2 separate regions of the Homo sapiens genome follow, and region 2 is linked to region 1. Evidence: promoter capture Hi-C in 16 types of primary human blood cells and fetal thymus (Javierre and others, 2016). All regions are on one chromosome and are shown on one strand. The core of a region is centred on a gene start or on the middle of the fragment in contact, and the rest is flanking DNA. Distances in the headings are between cores, read along the strand shown.

Evidence for each region. The method cuts DNA at HindIII sites, captures the fragments that hold promoters and counts their contacts. A CHiCAGO score of 5 or more calls a contact.
Region 2: a contact is called between a fragment that was not itself captured here and the fragment with the promoter of FIGNL1 in region 1, in 1 of 17 cell types (M0 macrophages). The highest score is 5.5, in M0 macrophages.

What each region holds. Positions count from the first base shown.
Region 1 is chr7:50,448,873-50,455,014 of GRCh38, reverse strand. It overlaps FIGNL1 (fidgetin like 1), which reads left to right and starts at 4,665. Exons shown (of 4, transcript NM_001287492.4): 1 at 4,665-4,714; 2 at 5,292-5,897. RefSeq lists silencers at 4,519-4,708, 4,850-5,144. The HindIII fragment of the contact is 8,767 bases long and covers 1-6,142 here.
Region 2 is chr7:51,108,854-51,115,312 of GRCh38, reverse strand. The region is part of intron 6 of COBL (cordon-bleu WH2 repeat protein); the gene reads left to right. Among named protein-coding and RNA genes, the nearest start is that of COBL, 200 kb to the left of the region's middle. RefSeq lists an enhancer at 3,608-4,109. The HindIII fragment of the contact is 1,394 bases long and covers 3,880-5,273 here.

The DNA.
Region 1 (6,142 bases), core at 3,416-5,915:
CAGTGCTGTAAGAATGCAGGGCATTCGTTTCCTGTGGCTGCTGGAACAATGGACGGCAGTCTCAGTGTCTTCAAATAACATAAACGTGTTCTCTCACAGTTCTGGAGGCAGAAACTGAAATCGAGGTGTTGGCAGGGCCATGCTGTCTACAAAGTCCAGCTGTTGGTAACCCAGACATTCCTTGGCTTGTGACAGCATCACTCCAATCTCTGCCCCCATCTTCACATGGCCTTCTTCCCTCTGTGACTCTTTTCCTTTTCTTTATAAGGACACCAATCAATCAGATGAGGGCCCACCCTAATCCAGAAGGACCTCATCTTAACTGGATTATGGCTGTAACAACCCTCTTTCCAAATAAGGCCACATTCACAGGTGCCAGGGGTTAGGGCTTCAACATATCTGTTTGGGGGATGCAATTCAACCCCTTACATACTGTACCAAACTGGAGGCACCTAGAAGTGTTGACTCCAATTGGTAGCGCAGTCCTTGAGGAAAATGACGACCCAAGCAAATGTTTCCTTCAATCTCTGCTCTACCCCGTTTCAGGTGCTATAGAAAAATTACGGGAGGGCATTGTTTTAGAGTGAGCTCCTGCACTAGGTCCCAACAGACCAAACTAAAGTGGAGTCACTCATGCTAAGTGCCATTTAACCAAGCTGAAACTTTAAGAAAGCTGGTGGTCCCCAAATAGACCAGTTTTTCTTGAAAACAAGAGTCACAGCAACCCATCAGAAAGAGTTCAGTCTGCCTGAGTCAGAGTAATAAGGAAGTCCCATTTGCTTTAACCATGACGAGAAAAGTAGTCTGAATTAAGCTGACACTAACCAATCAACCTTTAAAATAATACTGTTTCCTTGTTCCCACCTTACAAAACCACTGTTCTGCCATTCCCCAGTGGGAACTCTAATTCTATTTTATAGAATGGAGGCTACTGGATTCATGAATCATGAATAAAAGCCAATTTGATCTGTAAATAATTTTGTCTTTTGACACCAGGAGAACACCACCTCCCCCCTCACCAGCTGTGTTTATGACAATGATGCCAGAGGTAGCCTCTTCACATCCCTTTATGATTCATTCAGTATGGCCAATGAAAATCTTTTACTAAAATTGTGCACTTGCTTCACCCTGGGCTCACACATCTTACTCCTCTGCTGGAGGGCTAGAACACCATCCCCTCAATCCTGGTACTTTTTTCTTCCTTACCACTGAGTCAGGGAGCTGAGAGGTTTGGAAGTCAGTGGGAATCCACACAGAGAAAGAACTGGATTTAGATTGGGCTGTTTTCCCTCTGAGCTTTGTCCTGTTGGCTTCCCTATCTCCTCAACACCACCTGCCTCCCGCACCCACCGACACACACATCTCCAGAATGTAACTCTCCTGGCTGACAGGGAAGCACATTATTTAGGGCCGTATTATCCCCTCTGCTCAAAAACAAATGAGCTCACCGAAGTGTACACTTGCATTTATCTGAGACCATGTTTATAAAATTCATGAATATGGAAATGGGCAGCCATCTCCCAGAATCCCTCACACCAAGAGAACTGGCACTGTCTGCTGTAGGTGAAAACCTCTTCCCTTGAAGGCTCAACAACTTCTACCCAGAAGAAGAAAAGAACAGCATATTCTTTCTCATACACACACACAAACACACACACACACACACACGCACACAGTATATACCACCAGTCTGTGGTCTTGGAAGCAAAGTTTAATAATTGAATAGCTCAAGCACTAAACTCTTACATATTATTAAGATACTATCCTAATATGTCTCATTTGTCAAAGATGGAAAAGTTTTGATATGACATAAGGGTTTCAATCCCAATAGGAATATTAATGGTAACAATAAAAATAACATAGCAACACGGTTTCTGTTGAATGCCTGCCACATGCCAGCAACTGCTTTGATAATTAAAGAATTATATCTTATGTTGATTATAATCCTTATAATGGCTTCCTGGGTAAGAAAGGTTTATTACTGTTTTACATTTGAGGAGGAGACTAGGGTTCAGAGAGGGTGCAGAAGTGAGTTACACTTTTGCCAACCAGGCCAGAAGATGAAAGCCGCTGGATTGGGAAATGCTTTTGTATCAAAAGCACAAAATGAAGTGGCTAGTGTTACTTGTTGGAAAAAAATTAACTTTGGCAAGCATAAATATAATTCAGTATTTGAGCAATACTTTTAGGAGGGTAACAGAGTGGTTTATGTGAATTCTCCAAAATGCCATCATGAAAATTTTGATGATGAAAATCACCTAAAATTGCTAATTACCTGTCTTAGCCTGTCTAGGGCTACAAAGTACCATATGCTGAGTGGCTCATAAACAATAGAAATTTATTTCTCACAGTGGAGGCTGGAAGTCAGAGTGCCAGAATGGTCGAGTTCTGGTGAGGGCTCTTCCAGGTTGCTGTCAACTCTTTGCATCCTTAGGTGGTGGCAAGAGGGCTAGAAAGTTCTTTGGAGTCTCTTTTATTGTATTTTATTTTTTGGAGACAGTCTCACTCCGTCCCCCAGGCTGGAGTGCAGTGGCGCGATCTCAGTTCACTGCAACCTCCACCTCCTGGGTTCAAGCAATTCTCAGGCCTCAGCCTCCTAAGTAGCTGGGATTACAGGTGCCCACCACAACACCTGGCTAATTTTTGTATTTTTAGTAGAGACAGGGTTTTGCCATGTTGGCCAGGCTGGTCTCGAACTCCTGACCCCAGGCGATCCACCTGCCTCGGCCTCCCAAAGTGCTGGGATTACAGGCATGAGACACTGCACCCAGCCTCTGGAGTCTCTTTTATAAGGATACTTACTATTCTCATCCATGAAGTCTCCACTCTCATGACCTAATCACCTCACAAAGGCCCCGCCCCTTAAAACCATCACATTGGGCTTAGGATTTCAACATACAAATTTTGGGGGGACATAAACTTTCCATCCCTAACATTACCCAAATAGTATCTATATAGTCATTTCTAAATATACACGTATTTAGAAATTTCTAAATAGCCAGTAAACATACAACTGACTTGGCCTTGATATAACTGTTTTCATTTTCTTTTATTTTCATTCTACATGACATATTTTGGGTAATTATAAAATAATTAAAATTAGTTGATAAAGTATGGAATTAGAATAAAATAATTTTCTATTACTATCTAAGCCATGAAATGAATTAGGAGATGCTGTTTTCAGTGAAACGTCTTCTAGTTTTTAAAGTGCATTGTCCAATTCCTTTTTATTTTGTGAAGATTTTAAAAACTTAAAAAAAGTCTTCAAATTGTTTGTGCCTTGCATTTCTTTAAATCTTATGTTTAAACATCATGTGCTGCTAGTTGCTAGTCATTTTCTCTATCCCCTGCCCCAGACCCTCTCTTTCTCAGGAAAGGATATCCAGGGATCCGGGTCCCAGTTAGTCAAGGAGATATAAGAGGAAGGCTATGAGGCTTTCTGGGAAACATTTTCTTTTTCCAAGAGAGAAGTGTTCAGAGGGAAAAGGTCCTTTCTCAGTTTGGCTCCCTCTTTGTGTTTTAGATCTGGTCATGTGAGGCTGCCTGGCTTGGATTGTGAGGGCATCTCTCGACAATGAAGTGACAAGCCTGGGGAGGAAAATCCACAGGCGAGAAGGTGGCAGAATGGAGAGATGGTCCTTCATGACTTCTTTGAGTCACCAGGTCCAGATTTCCCGCCAACCTCCAGTCTTCTTGTTATGTGATCTGATATCATTATTTACTGCAGAGGCCACTGAGTGGATGCTCTTACTTGTGTCTGAAAATCCAATTCACTAAATTAATCAAAATACGGCACTCTTCTTTTGAAACCTTGCTCCAGAACAAAGTGGAAGGTAATGATGGGGTGCTTTTCAAAGTTCCAGGGAGGTGTCCCTACACAGCAGACAGCTGTCCAAAGGAATGTAGATGTTGGCTGCGGGGAGATCTGAGTTGCCAGACTCAGTCAGAACAGGTGTCCTCTCCCTTATTTTATCTTAAACATGCATGTCATTTTTGCATGCTACTCTATGCGGTTCTTTCAGCCAGGGAACATTGCTGAGCACCCGCTCACGTGCTGTATGGAGCGCAGACTGCAGGGTGCGAGGGGCGGAGGTGATGTGCTAGGCCTGAATTCAAGAGGGGGCGCAGCCACAGGCCCCGCGATGCCGGGGTGGCCTCTTGTAACGACGTTTTAACCGCTGACCTAAGTGGATCCGCTCCTCTCCCGCCGCCCGCTCCCTGCCTGCAGCACAGGATGGCGGCTGGCTTTCCCGAGTGGGCGCAGGTGAGCCACGCTTGCTCTCCCGGGTGGGCGCAGGTGAGCCATTGTTTGCTCTCCCGGGTGGGCGCAGGAGAGCCACGCTTTGCTCTCCCAGGTGAGCCGCCGCTCGCTGTCCCGGTGAGGGGAAGTGAGCCACGCTCTATGGGAATCCTTCGAATCTTCATTCAATTTCCATCGCCTCCTTGTATTTATTTGGGAGTACTTTTAAAAATGAAGCCTATGCACAATGATGTAATAAGCGTTTATAGAACACCACTGGTCGGAGCTAGGGCCTAGGTGGCGGTGCCCGGGCCCAGGTGCCGCGCCCACGCCCCGCGCGCCGAACGCACGCACGCACGCACTCACGCACTCACGCACGCACGTACGGCGCGAGTCCGAGGGCGACAGCAGCGCGCAGGCGCACGTCAGTCCCCGCGCTTTTCGGAGGCTGCCAGCGTCCCACACCAGCCGCAGGTAGGATGCGGTGACGGGAGGCGGGGCAGGGGCGCTGCTGACCCCTGTGGAGCATCAGGGTTGGGGCGTAGGGGAGAGGCGGGCGTGTGCCTCTGGAATGCTGGGGGTCGCGGGGCGGTGACTTCGCGGGAGGCCGTGGGAGGCGGGAGCCAGGCAGTGGCTGTGCCCTTTTGCTTCTGTCTTAGCGGGAGGGTGGCTGACCCGCTAGCCCAGAACCAGACTCATCCAGGATTAGGAAGCTGGGGCCCGGCGTGGACGGCAGGCTCGGGGCCAGGTCTGCGGGCGGCTTCCTTTGGCAGAGCCTGTCCGGGGGCGGGGCCGCTTACCGCAGGCATTTACTGGGCCCAGCGGGGCTCTGGGCGCCCACAGCGGGGGTCAGTCAGTTCCCCTGTGACCCAGGCAAGCTCTTAATCTCTGTGATGAGAAAGAAGGGCTCATACCTTTCAGGGGTCATCGTGAGGAATCAGAAGAAGCAGTATTTTATAGAGTATTTTCTAAGTGCTGAGTCCTCTGTCTAGTGCTTTGCAGAATTAAAATACCTTGTCAGCTCAGTGATGTTGCTGCGCTTCTTTTATAGGTGAAAACCGGCAGAAAGACATTAAGAGATTTTCCTGCAGTCACTGCTGGCAGATGATAGAGCCAGGATTTGAAAGCAGGCAGCCTGGCTCCAGACCCTGTGCTCTTAACTCCCGTTTTGCATCAAGAACAGAATCCTATGAAAGGCTTGCACAGTGCTTGGTACTGAGTAGGCACTCCGTCAGTATTTTAGTAGCTATTATTCCAAAGGACACTGTATTCTAGGTACTAAGACAATGTGAATGGAATGGAAAACAATTCCTCCCTGCAGAAGCCAACTGTCTAGGAAGACAGATAATGACATTATTAAAATAATCAGAACATTGGCAAAATAAAGAAGATTGAAATGCAGTTCATATGACAGTGCTAATTAATCATACTTTTTAGATCTAGGAAAGGCCATAAAGGTTAAATTGACTTGGAAATGGTAAACAAGACAATGGTTGTGTCACTGATCGGTGATGGCCAGTTTTTGGTTATCCTTATTTGCCATTTAAATGATTGAATTGAAAGGAAGAAGTAAGACTTGGAAGATGAATATTGAAGGAAAGGTGAAGATGGAAAAGAGAAGGGGGTTTATTCTGAGAACAGTGACTAGAACTCTGAGGTATGGTAGAAATTTCAGGATAACAGATGATAAAGGGGAATGAAGCCATGGAGAGGAAGAGAATGATAATATTAATTGTGAAAGTTTGTGTCAAGTGTTTTCTGAGTCACCTTTCTTTCAGTTTCTCATTTCTAGTATTGTATAAATGAGTTTAACATCAAAATGGTATAGTGAAAAAAAGGATGAACTGCTTGACAGAAGAGGTCAGATCTAGTTTTGACTCTAGCTTATTTAGCTTTACAGCT
Region 2 (6,459 bases), core at 3,327-5,826, 660 kb before region 1:
GAAAGAGAGATATAATAAAAATAAAAGCAGAGATCAGTGAAATCGAAAGCAGTAGTAGAGAAAATGCATAAAATCAGAGCTCTTTCTGTCTTTCACATGATCAACCATATGATCAACATATCTAGATTGATCCAGGGAAAAAAGAACATAAATTAATATCAATTTTAAAAGATGGCTTATTAATATGATTCTATAGACATTAAGATGAGGAAATGTGAACTTTTTACCAAAAATTTTGAAAACTTAGATGAAATGGAGAAATTCCTTGAAAAATGCAACTTACCATTTGACACAAGCTGAAACAAAAATCTGAATCACACATTTACTGTGGTGGTGATGGTAATTGCAGTGAATATTTATCATTAGTGTATGCATTCATCCATTCAGCTGAATAATTTAAGTGCCTGCTTTGTGCTACAGGAGATAGCTAAAATTGGAGCTAGTGTTGGGATGTAGAAAATAAACAAGTAAACAAATCCATACAATACTTCAGATATCAGTAAGTTATCACAAGGAATATGTTGGGGACATGATTAAGAGTGACGTAACAGGGTAGTTAGTTTCAATTCCAACTTGAGGAACTCTGCTCTGTGCTAAGGAATAAATGCTTAGGAGGAACTGGCCTTGTGACAATCTGGGGGAAGAAAATCCCAAGCAAGGGACCCCTATTGCAAAGGCCTGAGGTCAGGACAAACTTCTGATCAAGGACAGAGAATGGCAGATACATCATTTCTGTAAGAAAACTTCCAGGTTAGTCTTTTCTCTCATCTCTCTCCAGATTTACTGTCTTATAGAAACAGTATTAGGATGAGATTCTGGCTAACTGTGATTTCTTTCCTTTTTTAAAGTTTTATTCTAAGTATGAGATTTTTGTTTTAGTAAATGTTTCTTATGTTAAATACCCAATTTGAAACACTTATTATCTCTGGATTTTTTTTTTTTCTGGAGTACGTAAGAACCAGCCCTCAGAATTTGACCGTGTATAACAGTGAGGAAGGGGCAGCACGGTAGAGAGACAGGGGACTCCTCACACTGATTTGCCTTTGATGGGTGGAGCTGAGAAAAAAGTCATCCCTGGGGGTTCTGCTGTTGTGTTAGGAGTCACCCCCTCCTGACTGTGTTGGAGGGGCCGCCCCAGCTTCCAGCCTTGTGGCAAGCGTAGACTTGTGTTAGACCTCCCCAGCAGGCTCCCTGCACATATAAAGGTGGAGATCGCTTATGTAGACCCAAAGTCTAGGTTTTGGATCTTTCACAGCAGTTCAGAGTGTTGGCCACATTTTAAAATATCTAATTGTCAGTACTGAGAGGATCACACGGAATAACCTAGAAAACACGCACATTTCCCAAGGCCACCATTTGGCCTGTAACTATAGAGGGCAAGGAGTGATTTGTGTCTATAGATTGAGGTCAGTTGGAAATCTTTCAGCGCAATCACAGGCCTTGATTATTTTTAGACAATGAATATAAAACAGACAACCTTAGGTTATGTGAAGAGAACCACACTTAATTCCATCAAATTCAAGTTTGTTTCATATTTCTCATAAACTAAACCATTAAGTGCTGAGAACAGCAAATAACACATTTCTGATATGGAAGAGAAATTTATTCCAAATAATATTGAAAAGGACTGATTTCTTTAAAAAGCACTCATTCAGACATATTTTTTTTCCAAAATCTATTGTTTTGGTAGAAATAATTATAATAAAAGAAGCACAATATTTTTGTGTTTTTCTATTTAGCCTTCTACATTTGCCAAGGAATAAATGTTAAGGAACCACTTTAGTAATTTTAAGCCGTGGAATTGAGTGACAGTAAAAGCTTCCAGTGACTAAAAACTTTCTTAACAATGTTTTTTAAGAGAGGATAGAATATTATTGGAGAGAGATTAGACAAAATGAAGAGTCAGATTTCTTAATGGACACTTTATAAACAATAGCCATGGTAGCTCATAAAAGCTTTTACTTTTCATTATACAGTTCTAACAGTTGATAGAACAGTAAGCCTGGTAAGTCTTCCTTATTTATGTGGTTTGTATTTTATTTCCTTCATATATTCTGAGTAGTACTTTGCACCTTTGCACTTGACACATCTGCTTTTGCCATTCTCTTAAGAATATTGCCAGAATCCTGCTAGAAACTTGTGATGAAGCATAGATGCTCCAAATGAGCTGTCATCCTGGGTGGAAGTCTATTCCCTGGATGTGTGGGACCAGTACCTCTCCAAGAGATGTTACTGTGCAGAGGGAGTGCATTTCACACCCTAGACCTGTGCCAAAGGATTTTTATCATTTCCGGAAGGTTAAGATGTCTGCAGCTTCCACGTCTTATGGGAGCACATCACCATTAATAAATTTATTTTCGGTTGTAGGAGTTTTTATATTTTGTTTGTGGTTGCCACATATGGGAAGAAGATGATACTTGAGTATGCTTGTCTAAGAAGTGTCTGAAGCTGTTGGCATCAAGAGCACAATTATTATGTTCAAAACAGATCTAGATGGGGCAACTGAAGCTAATGAGAAACCTGATTGTGCCTTCCTGCCTGCAGCGTTGACCTAAGCCCTAGGCACCAGCATTCTTATGCAAGGACCCCAAGGGCCCCTCCTCTGTGGACTGCAAAGCAAGGCCAGACTAGTTTTACTTCTGATGAGACCCAAAGGTGCAAAGGACAGCCGACCCCATGCAAGGCCTAAATGAGGGGAGGATTTCAGCTATTAGTCAAATACTGGTGCTCAGGAAAGAGATCTGTAGAAACTCCCTGAAAGATCTGTGTGCAGAAGTGAATATTGTAACCTATGCATCTGCAGGGACACCCCAACATGAATGGGAGCTTAGAAAGGAAACAGTGCTCATTGATCATGAAGCACTGCTTGCTTCTGGAGGTAACATTGTGTTAATAAGTAGTTTTTAAGTTACATATTAATCATAAACTATATATTTTTAAATGGTCCATATCTTAGAAGTTCTCTGTGGTCCTTTGCTTCCAATGTTTCTTTAGGGCAAAAAATAAAAATAATCCACAGGACACTGAGGAGAGCAATACAATTTCCATCAGTGATGAATTGGAATAGAAATGCTGATGTATAGCAAAGATACTTACTCTATGTACAGAATCTACTTTGTAATCCCACTTCATGGCATTCTAGTTTCTCCTCTCTTATGCTTTTGCAACCATTAAATTGTTTCCAAGCCTTGTACAGTTGACTGTTATGTGTGTGGGAGTCTTTAGTAAAAATAGAAATAGACATCCACCTGAAAATTGCCTGGACTTGTTCTTAGTGGTCCCCGTGCCATGCAAGTGAACTGGATTCCTTTGATGATATTGATGAGGATATTACCTAATCTTCACCTCTTCCTAGGAACACACTTTACCATATGTCCCTGTGAAGTAAGTGTTAAGAGAGTAAAATAAATAAATCGCATTATGTACACAGGCCCTTTCTGCCCAGTCTTGCCATTCAGAAATGCACTCATTTAATCTCCTAGTTGTGAACACTTGCTGGGGCCCATCACATGCCCTGGCTGGCACTGCACAGTGCTGAGCAGCACAGATGGATACAGCTCCTCCTGGTATTGAGGAGGCCCCGTCTAAGAAGATACACAGATGTTACCATGAAGTCAAGGAGCATGCAGGGGCCCAGGCACGGGGGAGAGGCAGCTGTTTCTTTTCTGTGACATGTAGTATTGAGATGGGCCTTGAAGGATGGATGGGTCGTGAGGACAGGACAGTTCAGCGAGAGAGGACACTCCGTGCTGAGGCTGAGGTGGGGCCGGCGGGGAGAATCAGGGCCACTGGAAGAGCAGGATGCCACACTGCACACACCATTTGAGTAGGATCCTGCTTACAATTATGCAGCTAGTGACAGTGAATACAAACCAAGCTTCTTTCCAATGCCAATAATGCCATACTGGCCTCCCATCTGTTCCTCTTGTAGTATGTAAAAGGCCAAGTTAGAAGGGCTTGTTATCAAAGAGAGAAAAAGCAAATGCTGGCAAGGATATGGAGAAAGGGGATGCTTATGCACTCTTGGTGGGAATGTAAGTTAGTATAGCCATTATGAAAAATAGTATGGGGGTTCCTCAAAAACCTAAATGATGCAGCAATCCCACCACTAGGTATTTATCCAAAAGAAATGAAATTAGTATGTTGAAGAGATGTCTGCACCCCCATGTTTATTGCAGCATTATTCACAGTAGTCAAGATATGGTATCACCTTAAAGAACTAAAAGTAGAACTACCATTTGATCCAGCAATCCCACTACTGGGCATCTACCCAGAGGAAAAGAAGTCATTATTCGAAAAAGATACTTGCACACGCATGTTTATAGCAGCACAATTCACAATTGCAAAATCGTGGAACCAACCCAAATGCCCATCGATCAATGAGTGGATAAAGAAACTGTGCTATATACATATGATGGAATACTATGCAGTCATAAAAAGGAATAAATTAACAGCATTTGCAGTGACCTGGATGAGATTGGAGACTATGATTGTAAGTGAAGTAACTCAGGAATGGAAAACCAAACATCGTATGTTCTCACTGATATGTGGGAGCTAAGCTATGAGGACACAAAGGCATAAGAATGATACAGTGGACTTTGGGGACTTGTGGGCAAGAGTGGAAGGTTGGTTAAGGGATAAAAGACAACAAATATGGTGCAGTATATACCGCTTGGGTGATGGGTGTACCAAAACCTCACAGATCACAACTGAAGAACTTATGTAACCAAATACCACCTGTACCCCGATAACTTATTGAAAAATAAAATAAAGATATGGAATCAACCTAAGTGTCCGTCAGCGGATGAATGGTTAGAGAAGATGTGGTATATATACACAATAGAGTACTATTCTGCTATAAAGGAAAAAATGAAATCCTGTCATTTACAGCGACATGGATGGAACTGGAGGCCATTATATTAAGTGAAATAAACCAGGCACAGAAGGAGAAATAATGCAGGTTCTCACTCTTACGTGGGAGCTAAAAAAGTGGATCTCATGAAGGTAGAGAGTAGATTGGTGGTTACCAGAGGCTGCGCAGGGTGGAGGGGAGAGGGAGGAAGAGGGAATGCTTAATGGATATAAAAGTTCAATTAGGTCGAAGGAATAAGTTCTAGTGTTTGGTAGCATAGTCGGATGACTATTGTTAACAATAACTATTGTATAGTTTGAAATAGAAAAGATTTTAAATGTTTACAATACAAAGAAATGCTAAATGTTTGAGGTTAAAGATATCCCAATTACCCTGGTTTGATTATTACACATTGTAAGCTTGTATCAAAATACCACATGTACCCCATAAATATGTACAATTATTATGTATCAATTTTTTTAAAGAAAAAAGAAGAGGCCAAGCAGTTTCCATCCCCTTGCTCTCGCCTGTGTCATTCTTCCTCGTACCTTTGCACAGGTGGCCTGTTTCTTTCACTGCCTCAGCGCTCCATCCTCAGCCACGGAAACATGTGGCTGCCTTTCGTTTCTGTGGAAGGTGGCACTACTAACATGATGCAGTGGTTTCTTTCTGTCTTCCCCTCACGAGACATACATTCTGTGAGTGCAGGGAAGGAGTTTGCTGTCTTTTTTGAGGCTCCCCTTCCTTTGTGGAGAACAGTGCCTGGCATGTAGTCAGTTTTTTTAGTAAAATTTTTGAGAAATAAATGAGTGATCGAGCCTGGTAGCACAGTGGTAACTGACTCTGAGAGACAGAACGACAGAGAGGGAAGAAGCATTTAAGATAACTCAGGCAGGAAATGCAAAGGGCCTGAATAAAAGCAGGGGTAGCCAGGGGTGGGGGGCAAGGAGGGAGATGGGATTTTAGGACTGTCACAGCAAGAACTGAGGTGCTTCAGGAGCAGTGCAGTGAAGGTGGCGAGCGAGATGGAAGTGGCAAAGAATCCAACCTTTAAAGATTATCCAGAAGGGTCCGCAGATGCAGATGATGATGCAGAACCAGTTGGAGCTGAAATGTCTACAGGAACCGCACTGGCAGTTGTCTGGAGCTCACAGGGTGGTGCATTCACACAGGTGGTTTGAAAATGACCACCAGTAGGTGGTAGTTGGGGAAATAAGAATGGATGAAAACCAGAGATGAAGAGAAGAGGCAGCCCTGCGGAGCACCATGCCCAGGATGGGGAGCAGCCCGAGAGTGTGCAGAAACTCGCATAGTGCAAGGAGGGAAGAGGCTGCCTGGTGGGAACTCACAGGACCTTTGGATGTGACCATCAGAACACTGGGCCATTCACACAGGTGCCACACTAGGCAGGAGGCCAGTGGCAAGGAAGGTGGGGTGACCGAGACTAAGGAAAAGGAAGTTGAAGTGGAACCAGTTCTTTCAGTAAACTTCATGGGGCAGGGGGTGTGTGTGTGTGTGTGTGTGTGTGTGTGTGTGTGTGTGTCTATGTGTCAGTGTGTGTATCTTTGTGTGACGGCTCCATGATGGGAGAAGTAGGCAGGTGTCTT